Linked DNA regions of Homo sapiens: all the other regions are linked to region 3. The links are contacts of gene promoters, found by promoter capture Hi-C in blood cells and fetal thymus (Javierre and others, 2016). All regions are on one chromosome and are shown on one strand. Each heading gives the region's core, a stretch centred on a gene start or on the middle of the fragment in contact. The rest is flanking DNA. Distances are from core to core; before and after follow the strand shown.

Region 1 (4,101 bases), core at 1,056-3,555, 230 kb after region 3:
TAAACATCAGGGCTCCAGGTGCTGTCCACAATGTCACAGCTGCCTTTCTGAAAGTAAAAAGAGCAGTGCTCAACTCAAACAGGGGTCTGAACTCATTGTTCTCCTGTCTGAAATCCTTCAGTGCCTCCCTGTCATCTCCTTGTGATGAAGTCCAAGTTCCTTAGGAGGATAGGTACGTACTTGCTACCTTCACCAACTGCATTTCTGCTACTCCCAGGGATCCGCCCATACCAAATGACCAGTGAGTTTCCTGAAGAAGCCCTGGTATTCCACGCCTCCAGACCTTCGCACAGACTCTCATCTCTGCCTAAATACCTTTCCACTATCCCTGTCTGTTCCTACTCACCCTTCAAGTTTCAGCTTAGATGTTTCATCCTTCAAGAAATAGTCCCTAAAAGCCTCCCCTCAATCTGGACCAAGTACTGCTCCTCAGAGTCTCTGTTGATACCCTGTTACCATGTTTTGTCTATTTTTTTTAGCTTTTGTACATCTCCAGGGCTGGGTAGAGGGTAGAGTTAATGGTTCAAAGGGGATGATGAAGTAAACCACACGTGGTAGTGTTTCAGGATGAAACCAGAAAAGATGAAGCTCCCACCTCAGCGCACCCCCAGAGAGGACTTTTTGACTAATTGTCTTGGAATCAGGCAGGCCTGGGCTCAAGTTCCAGCTCAGCTAGTTCTTAGCTGTGTGACCCACGATTCTGTACCTGTAAAAAGAGTTAATAAAAAGATCTACTTTGAGGGATCATTGTGAGAATTTGTTGAGAGCAATCTTGGATCAGGGTAAAGCTTAAAGGATGATAGATGTATTGCTGTTATTCGTGCTCAGCCCTCTTTCCTTTGGAAACACACACACGCACAGACACACACACACACACACACACATCACGTGCACATTGTAGAGTGGACATAATGGGGGAACCCAGCAGGTGATCACCAGAAAAGAAAGGGGTCAGCAGGTGGGAAGGCCAGGCTTTGTCTGCAGAAGGCCTGAGTTAACTAGCATTTCCTCCAAAGGGCAGCAATGTTACTTTCAAGCACACAGCCTGAACACAACTAGCAAAGCTTTGACAAGCAGAGCTTGGAGAACTGGCTTTAGGAAGAGGTGACCTTGATTTCCCAGGAAGGCCTCAACTGTAAATAAACAGCTGCTTCCAAAGTGCCCTTTCCCTCCCACTTTCTGTGCTCTGCCTGTCTCCTCCCCTCTATCTCCACCTTTCACTCTTCCACATCACACCCTGCGCATGTCTTATCCTTTGGCTCCCTGGAATGCTTCCTGTTATCTTGCCCTGTTGGAGGCCTGAGTTGTCATTAAGGCTGACAGAGGGGCACCCATGGCGGGGAGGGCTTTGGCTTCCAGGAGAGAAGCCTGTAACTGTGGAAAGGAGGCCCCATGAGAGGCCCATTTGGAGTCTTCCCACACTCTCCCCTTCCCACACCCAGCCATCTGCTCAGACACCTGCTGAGTGCACCTGTGAACTCTAGTGTTCTCCCTGCTCTAATTGGGCATCTCCCGAATTGAGCTCATCTTTAACACTGGTCATCTCTAGCGGGGCTTTGGCTTCCAGTGGTATCTCCTGGGCAATAGCCCTGGCCCAGATCCCACTTCTGTCTCATTAATCTTAACTGAGAACTGACAGCTTCTGAGGAGTCCCACCTTCACTGCCAGCCCCAGGTAGGATGGGTCTGCCACCGCCAGTCTGCAGGGCTCAGTGCAGCCTCTTCTGTGAAGGCTTCTCCATACTTTTGAGTCCTTGCTGAATCCCTGTCTTTGAACTCTAAAGCCTTGCCCTTCTCTGTCATAAGAACGATCTGTAGTCATCAATTGAGTCCTCAGTTACAGACTTGAGAAATCAAACCGTTTTTGCATAGTGTAGTGAATAAGAAGGCATTCTTTATAGTCACCAAATTCTGATTCTGCTGAGGAATTTAGGGCAAATGACTTCACCTCTCTGGGCCTCAGTTTCTGCATCTGTAAAATGGGCTACGGGGCAGGGCGCGGTGGCTCATGCCTGTAATCCCAGCACTTTGGGAGGCTGAGGCGGGTGGATCACAAGTTCAGGAGTTCAAGACCAGCCTGGCCAGGATGGTGAAACTATGTCTCTACTAAAAATACAAAAAAATTAGCCCGGCATGGTGGTGGATGCCTGTAATCCCAGCTACTCAGGAGGCTGAGGCAGGAGAATCACTTGAACCTGGGAGGAGAAGGTTGCAGTGAGCCAAGATCGCGCCACTACACTCCAGCCTAGGCGACAGAGCGAGACTCCATCTCAAAAAAAAAAAAAAAAAAAACAAAAAAAGAAAGGCTACGAATAACCATTTTTATGGGGCTACTTATGAGGATTAAATAGGTTATTGCACCACATACCTTGCTGACAGCCTGCCACATAATAAGTGATCAATAAATGGCAGCGTTGTTATTATTTAGAGGGGCACAGATTAAACATGTGCATTCTAGGAACAGATAACTTGCTTTAAAAGTGTTTCATTACTTACCCTCTTTGGGATCTTGGGCAAACTTAACCTTTGTAAGCCTTGGTGTCCTTATCTGTGAAATAAAACTAATAATGTCTATTTTTTCCTTTCCAACTTTTAGGTTCAAGGGATATATGTGCAGGTTTGTTACATAGGTAAATTGCATGTCATAGGGGTTTGGTGTAATTTTATCACCCAAGTAATCAGCATGGTACCTGATAGGTAGTTTTTCAGTCCTCACCCTCCTCCCACCCTTTACTCTCAAGTAGGCCCTGGTGTCTATCATTCTCTTCTTTGTGTCCCTGTGTACTCAATGTTTAGCTCCTACTTATAAGTGAGAATATGTGGTATTTGGTTTACTGTTCCTGCATTAATTCACTTAGGATAATCGACATGATTTCATTCTTTTTTATGGCTGCATAGTATTCCATGGTGTGTATGTACCACATTTTCTTTATTCAGTCCACCACTGATGGGCCTCTAGGTTGATTCCATGTCTTTGCTGTTGTGAATACTGCCGAGATAAACATATGTGTGCATGTGTCTTTATAATAGAACGATTTATATTCCTTTGGGAATATACCTAGAAATGGGATTGCTGGGTCAAATGGTAGTTCTATTTTTAGTTATTTGAGAAATCTCCAGACTGCTTTCCACTGAAAGCAGCTAAACTAATTTACATTCCCACTTTCAGTGCATAAGAGTTCACTTTTCTCTGCAATCTTGCCAGCATCTGCTATTTTTTGATGTTGTAGTAATAGCCATTCTGAAAATGTCTATTTTTAAAGTTGAAGAAACTGAGGCACGGATAGATTAAGTGACTTGCCCCAGCTATGCTAGGACACAAATGGTAGGTATCAAATACAGGAAATGAAGGCTCTAGGGGCTGCTCACTTGACCACTATTGCAGAATGATATGAGTGACACATAATGACACACTCCCCAAAACAGGAGAGTGGAGAGAGATGAGCCATCATTTCTGCTGGGGGTGTGGGAGGAGACAGAGAAAGTTTTAAACAGAAGGTGAAAACTACCCTAGTCCTGGAAAGATAGTGAATGCGGCTAAGCTTGAAATGAGGTTAGAACGTCATCCTAGATGGTTGCATAACAATGCACATGTAGTTAATGTCATAAAACTGCATACTTAAAAAGGGTCAAAATGGTAAAAGTCATTATTTATTTATTTATTTATTTATTTTGAGATGGAGTTTCGCTCTGTCGCCCAGGCTGGAGTGCAGTGGTGCAATCTCAGCTCACTGCAAGCTCCACCTCCCGGGTTCACACCATTCTCCTGCCTCAGCCTCCTGAGTGACTGGGACTACAGGCACCCACCACCATGCCCGGCTAATTTTCATATTTGTAGTAGATACAGGGTTTCACCATGTTAGCCAGGATGGTCTCAATCTCCTGACCTCGTGATCTGCCCGCCTCAGCCTCCCAAAGTGCTCCTGCGCCTGGTTGGGTAATAAGTCATTTTTAAAAAAATTGTTTAATGAAAAAAAAATTAACTTACATTTTTCTTAAAAGTAACAATTTAATGATATGTATTTTCTGTGAACATTCAAGAAATAGAAATCACCAAGAAAAAAATAAATAAAATAATTTGTTATTCTGCCATTCAGATCTA
Region 2 (3,931 bases), core at 640-3,139, 240 kb after region 3:
CATCCTGCCTCAGCAGAGCACTGAGGGCTGGGTGGAAGAACATTCACTCATTCATCCATTCAGCACATCAGGCACCCACCATGTGGATGCCATCCAGCCTGGGAGCCACATGTGCCCAACTAACTTGTTTTAAGTCCATTCAGCAAGGTGGGGCTCGAGATCCAGGCAACAGAGGAAGTAACGAATGGAATGGACATAAAGTTGGTGGATACATGAAAGGTATCATTGTTAATAATATTGTTCCCCTGTTCAGCACATGTTTTAGTCAAGCACCAATTATTAGCAAGGCACAGAGGCACAGTGCTCCAGCTATGTCTGCCAGGCTATGTGCCAGTCACTTTACATGGAATTTCATTTCATCTTTACATCCACCCTATGAGGTGGTGAAGTGGACACCAGGATCTACAAGCTCCCTTTTTTGGGAATTTGGACCCCTCCCCCATCACATGGGTGAGTCCCTGAGGCCACGTTTGTACCTAGTGGTCCCGCCTTATGGTCATAGGTGATTAGATTAGGAGTGGGCATGTGGCTCAAGCTGGGCCAATCAGGTTCTCTTTGTGGAGAATTTATTTATTTATGGAGATGGAATCTCACTCTGTCACCCAGGCTGGAGTGCAGTGGCGTGATCTCGGCTCACTGCAACCCCTGCCTCCCGGGTTCAAGCAATTCTTCGGCCTCAGCCTCCCTAGTAGCTGGGCCTACAGGAGTGCCTCACCACGCCCTGCTAATTTTTATATTTTTAGTAGAGACAGGGTTTTGCCATGTTGGCCAGACCAGTCTTGAACTCCTGACCTCAAGTGATCCACCCGCCTTGGTTTCCCAAAGTGCTGGGATTCTTTTTTTTTTTTTTTTTTTTTTTTGAGATGAAGTCTCAGTCTGTCACCCAGGCTGGAGTGCAGTGGTGCGATCTGGGCTCACTGCAACCTCTGCCTCCTGGGTTCAAGAGATTCCCGGGAGGCAGAGTGTGTGTGTGGAGGATCTCGGGTGCGGAGTAGCCACCACACTCAGCTACTTTTTGTATTTTTAGTAGAGATGGGGTTTTGCCATGTCGGTCAGGCTCGTCTCAAACTCCTGACTTCGGGTGATCCACCCACCTCAGCCTCCCAAAGTGCTGGGCTTACAGACATGAGCCACTGCGCCCAGCCAAGTGCTGGGATTCTTTGTGGAGAGTTTAGAATTGAGATGTCATATTAACTGAGGCTTATCAGAACTGAGGGGTTGAGGGGGAGAAGAGAGTAATGCAGCAGGTAGCTGAGGGTGGTAGAGAGGCTGGTGGCCTTCCTGTCCAGGTTCTAAGCAAAGTCTGGTTGCTTTCCCTCCTGGGCCCCTCCAGGCTTGCTACATTCTTATGATGCATTCTGGTTTTGCCTAAGCTAGCTTGAGCCAGTTTCTGTCACTTGCATCCAAAGAGTCCTCGGTAGAACAGCGAGTTCCATGATGGCAAGGGACTGGGTCTTGTTCACTAAAGTGTCCTTAGGACCTGGTACATAAAAAGGGCTCCATAAATGTTAGTTGAATTAATAAAAAGTGGAGGTTCCGAGAAGTTAATTGATTTGGACCCGAGCCTCACAGTAAGTAACAGCTGGACTTTGAACTGGGTCTACCGGCTTCAGAGCATGTGCCTTTTCTGCCATACCAGGCTGGCTTTTATAAATTGTTCTCCTTATTATTATATTAAAATCACAGGTAGTCAGAACTAGAGTGAACCTGAAGACTAGTAAGTTTTATTGTTTTGTAGACGAGAAATTGGGGCCTAGGGAGGGGAAATGGCAGAAGTTTCTTGATTCTCATGCAGCTACCTAACCCGAGCTGACGTTTAATTATCATGTGTGTGACACTGCTGTGCTTGCTGTTTGAGTACTGAAATGTTTTCATACCAGTTGATGACTAGCAGCTGCCTCAAGCCCTTAGTGTCCCCTCCTCTGTAGCCCCAGCCTTCAGAACCCCCGGGCTTCCATTATCCACAAGCAAAGGGGTTGTGCTGAGTCCAGCACGGCTCTCCAGGTCTATTCTGATTGGTCAGTATCTGTGCCACTCGACCTGTTAAATATCAGCCTTGAATTTACCTAGTGTGATTTGAAGAGTTCTGGTTACTTTGTCTCTCCATTAAAGAGAAGTGGGGATTTTAAAATATAGCAAAAATAGCATTGCTATCCTTCCCCTCTGCCTCCCATGGCAGCTCAAATTCTACTGTTCAGAAACATTTCATGTATCCACTCACCCCTTCATTCCACAAATATTTACTGGGTGCCGATTCTGTGACAGGCTTTTGGCCCCCAGGAGCTCTTGTTCCCCACCACCTAAAATGTAAATTCCCCTGGGGAGGGAGGAATCTGAAGTTGGTATGGCCTGCATGCCATGGGGGTGATTTGGTAGTGGCAGGGATGACCCACTGGGCTGGCTTAGCCACCTGCAAAAGGTCAGCAACAAACAGGCAGACCAAAAGAAGTAATCGAGAGGGAGAAAGATAATACAGAAATAAACAACTGTATTTCAGCACATGTGTAAGTTGCATGGCACATCAAAACACCAACATTTAGGCCAGGCACGGTGGTTTACACCTATAATCCCAGCACTTTGGGAGGCCAAGGCAGGCGCGGATCACTTGAGGTCAGGTGTTCGAGACCAGTCTAGCCAACATGGTGAAACCCTGTCTCTACTAAAAATACAAAAAGTTAGCCAGGTGTGGTGGCAGCCGCCTATAATCCCAACTACTGGGGAGGCTGAGACAGGAGAATTGCTTGAGCCTAGGAGGAAGAGGTTGCAGTGCGCCGAGATTGCACCACTGCACTCTAGCCTGGGTGATGGAGTGAGACTCTGTCTCAAAAACAAACAAACAAACGACAACAAGAAAAAGCACCAACATTTATTTTATGAATTGGTGATGTTATTCTTTTGATTTACATATGTTGGAGGTAGATGGCATAATGGGCCTTCAGGGGTTGGGGCTCTAAAGATCTTAGCTGGGTTGAGCTGGCAGGCAGTGGAGGGCAAATTGCATGATCACAGATCTGGGCTGGACACCTGGGCTGAGCTGACGTTCTAGGAGGAGGAGTGAAGAATCCAATATGTGTTAAGGATGTCTACGTGCCTGTCCCATCCTAGGAATTTATATGTAGTATCTCATTACACTTCAAACAGCACTAGGTAGTAGATTTTATGATTCCATTTTACTGATGGAGGAAACTGAGATTCAGGATTTCTAAGCAGTTTTCACAAGGCGACATTACTAGTAATTAATGGAATTGGGATTTGCACCTGGATCTGGCATTTGGTAAATATTTGTTGAAAGAATGATCTTTCTGGCTCCAAAGTCCATGCCCTGTTACTACAGTTGAGAGAAAACCACCACCCCACACAAATATTAATAATAGCTGGCACTTATAGAGTACTGACTAAATGCTAAGCACTGTTCCAAGCACTTTATATATGTCAACTCATTTACACCTCATTTGACAGGTGAGGAAGCCAAGGCATAGAGAGATAAGTCGCCCAAGGTCTCAGAAGTGGCACACGGTGTAGCCCATGTTTAATCCAGCTGTCTGGCTGCAGGTCAGCCCTGAGCCTCTCTATACCATCCTGCCTGTTTCCCACAGCCCCACCCATTCAGGGTTTGATGATTTCATTTTCTTTTCACTAGTTTGGTAAGCATGCACTGATACCCAGAGCTTGTGTGTTTGCATTCCTCTTGTTTCTGGTAGAACTATGTACTTTTTCATGTTTTGATTTACCATCTGTGCTTCCTGTGTAAACTGTCTGTTCACCTCCTTTGTTGCTTACGGAGTGGAATCTGGGCACTGATTTTAGCTTTTTGTAAAAAAGCAAAAATTAATAAATTTTAGATGTATCGCTGGTTGGTTATTTCTTCCAGGCTGTTATTTTCCTCTTGTGACTGTCCTATATTTTATTCAATAAAAGTTTCCTATTTTTT
Region 3 (4,029 bases), core at 663-3,162:
AGGTGATCTCTAGGCGCCTGGGATGTCCTGCCTGATAGAAGTGTCTTTGTCTGTGGGCTTTGGCCACCAGACAGTCTATCAACATGATTTATAATGGGTGTTTTGATCCACGCTGTATCAGCTCAGACCTCTGGAGCAGCGGGAAACTAAAAGTATTCAGGAGGGGCTGGAGATTAATGGTCAACCACAAGGGCAGTGTGAGATTGAGCCCCAGTAAAAACTCTGGACATCAAAGCCTCAGATAAGCTTCTCTAGTTGCAATATTCTATGCATATTGTCACATATCATGGCTGGGAGGAAGTAATGCAGGTAATGACGTCAATGACTCCACAGGGATAAGATGACCAAAAGCTCTATGTTTGTACCCCTCCTGGACTCTGTCCTATTCATCTCTTTCCTTGGCTGATTAATTTGTATGCCTTCACTATAATAAAATTGGAGATGTGAGCACAGCACTTCCCTGAGCTCTGCGAATAGTTCTAGTGAATCATTGAATGTGAGGGTGGTGATGGGGCCCCTAAGTTTGTACCCAGCTGGTCTGAAGTGAGGTGGTTCTGGGGACCCCTGAACTTGCAGGTAGTGAGTGTTGAAGTTAGGGCAGTTTTTTGTGGACCGTTCCCTCAGACTTCGCAGTTTGGCTAAACTCATTGCTGCGTGATGGTGAAAGTGAGGGTGAGAAAAGATCAGGTAAGATTAGGTATGATTCTTAATGGGGAAGTCTATGAAATTGGTGAGTTCAGGGGCTTGTATTTGGGAAAAGGTACATTTAGGGAAGTCTCTCCTAGATGGGAGGTAAGAGATCAAAATTCTGCCAGAAAAATTAGATCCCTTTGACGAGTAAGACCCACTTCAGACCAACTGAGTGACAGTCCTGACAGAGTGACCTTAGACAAATGACTTCAAGACTTAGTCAAATGCAGCTATTATATATGTGATAGTTAAAACCGATGATATATGTGGAAATATCTTAAAGTTACCTCACATAAATGTGAAAACAAAATGCCATGATCATTTCAGAAACATCTGAGTGCAACTATTACAAATTGAGCTGTATTGGACAAGACTTTCTTGACATTTCCCCTCTCAAATTAAAAAGGTCTTTCACTAAGTTTTTAAATGTCACATTTTTTCATTCCAAGTTATCTTGATTTTTCTGTGTGTTCTCCAATGAGGAACATTTAGATCTAAAAAACTGGGGTGTTTAAGAAAAGCAATTCACATATTTCAATTTGTCTCCAAATTTCTTATCACCTCCTAGAGTGTCCGATTTGTCTCTCCTCCACTCCCGACGTCATGGGTTCAAATTTTTCAGAATATAACATTTAAAAATGATGCCTCAGCGTGAGGTTAATTTTTCTGAAGTAAAGGTTCCGGGTGAACGGTTTTAGAGTTTTCCCAGAGGCAGAAAGTCCTGCTTCTGGGGCGTAACCTACAGGGTAAGTCACCGGGAGTGTGCTGGGCCGTGGGGGAAGGTCTGGGTGGGCATTTTTGGGAGCCTCTCGCGAGTTGGAGGGAGTCTAGGGGCGGCGCACCAAATGGGTGAGCGTCGGTGAATCGGCGCGCGGGACCTCGCTCGGAAGTGGCGCGGCTGGGCAGGGCAGGGCCGGGGGAAGCCCGTTTCCCACCTGGATTAAGATGGATCCGACAGGGTCGTGGTTTTCAGTGTTCTGTGCCATGGCTAGGTCAGGGAACGGCTACCTCCGCGGAGGCGCGGTTTCCAAGCACGGAAACCTTCAGCCGGAGCCGCTCGTCCCCATGGCAACACCGCGCGCGACCTGGCCTGTTCCACGCTGGGAGCGGAAGGGGGTCTAGGGGCGGGGTCAGGCCAGCCTGGTCATTCCGAGAACGCCCTCTCCGGCCTGTCTCCCCCTCGCGCCGGCGGCCGTGGTGCAGCCCAAGGCGGAAGCGGCTGCCTGACGGAACCGGCTCGCGAGCGCAGCTATGGCTGCTGGCGTACCCTGTGCGTTAGTCACCAGCTGCTCCTCCGTCTTCTCAGGAGACCAGCTGGTCCAACGTGAGTAGATAGGCGCCTGGGCCGACCTCCAAGGCCCCTGAGCCTCAGCGGGCGACGGACCCAGCACCACGGCCTCTCTGGGCCTTGTCCCCGCAGCGGGCCCTGCGTTCTTCCTCCAGTCAGTGGAGGCGCCCAGTCTCCCCAGGTGGCTGCCCCTATCTCTTAATCTCGTGCTTTTCTGCCCACTCGGCCTTCTTCGGCGTTCCTTTCGGCTTCCTGTGTAAAGTGAGACTGATTTCCCGCTCTGCTCAGCCCAGGCCACAGGTTTTTGCGAGGATCCGTTGAGATGAACCTGAAGGCTCTCCGGAAATTGCGCTAGGTTACAGGAGTGTAAGGTGCTGGAATTGTTGATATCGTGATGTTGTTATCCTTGCTGCTCCGGGAGAGAGTGTTTACTCTGAATTCTGAAGTTTATTCTGCGTATTTACTCTGAAGTTTATTCTGCTTCTTAATGTGTACATTATAAGACTTGTTAGCTTTGTCCGCTCCACTCTAGTTATTCACGCCTTTCATCTGAGGCATGGGCTCTCCGCCAACATGAGTTTTTGGGTATGATTGGGCTAGTGCTTTTGCTTGTAGACCCTCATAATGGCTGTCAGACTTACTAACTCTTAAAAGAGAGAACATGGGACTGGATAATAAGCCAACTCTACTAAAGGGCTCTGTGAAGTTGAATTATAGGTAACTCAAGACTTCTGTTTTAAGTGTATGGCTTAGAATCAGAGCAGTGACTTAGCTGTATGATCTCGAGCAAGTCACCTAACCTACCTACATTCCTTCCTTCTTTTCTTTTTTTTTTTTTAAAGAGACGGGAACTTGCTCTGTCGCCCGGGCTGGAGTGCAGTGATGCGATCATAGCTCACTTCAGCCTCGAACTCCTGGGCTCAAGCGATCCTCCTGCCTCAGTCTCCCGAGCAACTGGGACTGCAGGCTCACACCACGAACCCTGGCTAATTTTTTTATTTTTTGTAGAGCCAGAGTCTTGCTATGTTGCTCAGGCTGGTCTCCAACTCGTGGTTTCAAGTGATCCTCCTGTCTTGGCCGCCCTAAGTGCTGAGATTACAGGCGTGAGCCACTGTGCCTGGCTACCCTTCACTTTCTCTTTTCTCTCCTTTTTTTTATTTTTGTTTTGAGATAGGGTCTCACTCTGCTGCCCAGGCTGTAGTGCAGTGGCGTTATCTCGGCTCACTGCAACCTCTGCCTCCTGGGCTCAAGCCATCCCCCTACCTCAGCCTCCCAAGTATCTGGGACTACAGGTGTGTGCCACCACGCCCGGCTAATTGCCCCCCCCCCCCCCCGTCATACGGGGTTTGGCCATGTTGCCCAGGCTGGTCTGGAACTCCCGGGCTCAAGTGATCTGCCTGCCTTTGCCACCCAAAGTGCTGGGATTACAGGTGTGAGTCACCACCGCGCCCGGCCCCTTCACCTTCTATCTATAAAATAGGGATAATTTTCGCAAGATTGTGCTTATCCCCGAGTCTGGCACATAGTAAACATTTGATAAATCATAGACATTATTATTAAGGCACATTACTATCTCTGTAACCCTCAATTTCCTGATCCTTAAAATGGGGCATATGAGCCTATTTCAGGAGTATTTGAAGGACAGATGATGTGACATTTTGAACACACTTTGTAAACTGTAAAGCATTGTATAATTATAATTTCTTTGCTACACCTGTCAAATGACAGAATTAGGTAAGATGTCCCTTCAGTGCAGATATTATATGACTTAGTTATCATTTGTGATCACTTAGAAAGTTCCTTGCTAGGGTAAAAGCTTAATTATAGCATTTAACTAAGTGGTTACTAACTGGTCTAATTAGGCCATTTTCTTACCTTTAAGCAGTGCTCCTTCCTATTTTCTCCCTTCCCTCCTTTCTTCCTTCTTTTCTTCCTTCCTTCCTCTTTTTTCTTTAATTGTTTCATTGTAAAACTAGTGCATACTAAGTAAAATTTAGCATACAGAGAAAAGAAAATAGCCATAGTCTCATTACCCAACTACAAATACTGCT

The links. The method cuts DNA at HindIII sites, captures the fragments that hold promoters and counts their contacts. A CHiCAGO score of 5 or more calls a contact.
Region 1: a contact is called between a fragment that was not itself captured here and the fragment with the promoter of AAGAB in region 3, in 3 of 17 cell types (total CD8 T cells, activated CD4 T cells and non-activated CD4 T cells). The highest score is 7.0, in total CD8 T cells.
Region 2: a contact is called between a fragment that was not itself captured here and the fragment with the promoter of AAGAB in region 3, in 3 of 17 cell types (non-activated CD4 T cells, total CD8 T cells and activated CD4 T cells). The highest score is 6.0, in non-activated CD4 T cells.

The regions. Positions count from the first base shown.
Region 1 is chr15:67,027,406-67,031,506 of GRCh38, reverse strand. All of the region lies in intron 2 of SMAD3-DT (SMAD3 divergent transcript), which reads left to right. Among named protein-coding and RNA genes, the nearest start is that of SMAD3-DT, 35 kb to the left of the region's middle. RefSeq lists an enhancer at 676-1,332. The HindIII fragment of the contact is 2,477 bases long and covers 1,067-3,543 here.
Region 2 is chr15:67,009,458-67,013,388 of GRCh38, reverse strand. The region is part of intron 2 of SMAD3-DT (SMAD3 divergent transcript); the gene reads left to right. Among named protein-coding and RNA genes, the nearest start is that of SMAD3-DT, 53 kb to the left of the region's middle. The HindIII fragment of the contact is 4,855 bases long and covers 1-3,931 here.
Region 3 is chr15:67,252,544-67,256,572 of GRCh38, reverse strand. It overlaps AAGAB (alpha and gamma adaptin binding protein), which reads left to right and starts at 1,912. Exons shown (of 10, transcript NM_024666.5): 1 at 1,912-2,014. The coding sequence starts at 1,942. IQCH (IQ motif containing H) reads right to left here and starts at 1,787. Exons shown (of 21, transcript NM_001031715.3): 1 at 1,626-1,787. The coding sequence starts at 1,676. RefSeq lists an enhancer at 1,852-2,171. The HindIII fragment of the contact is 3,548 bases long and covers 249-3,796 here.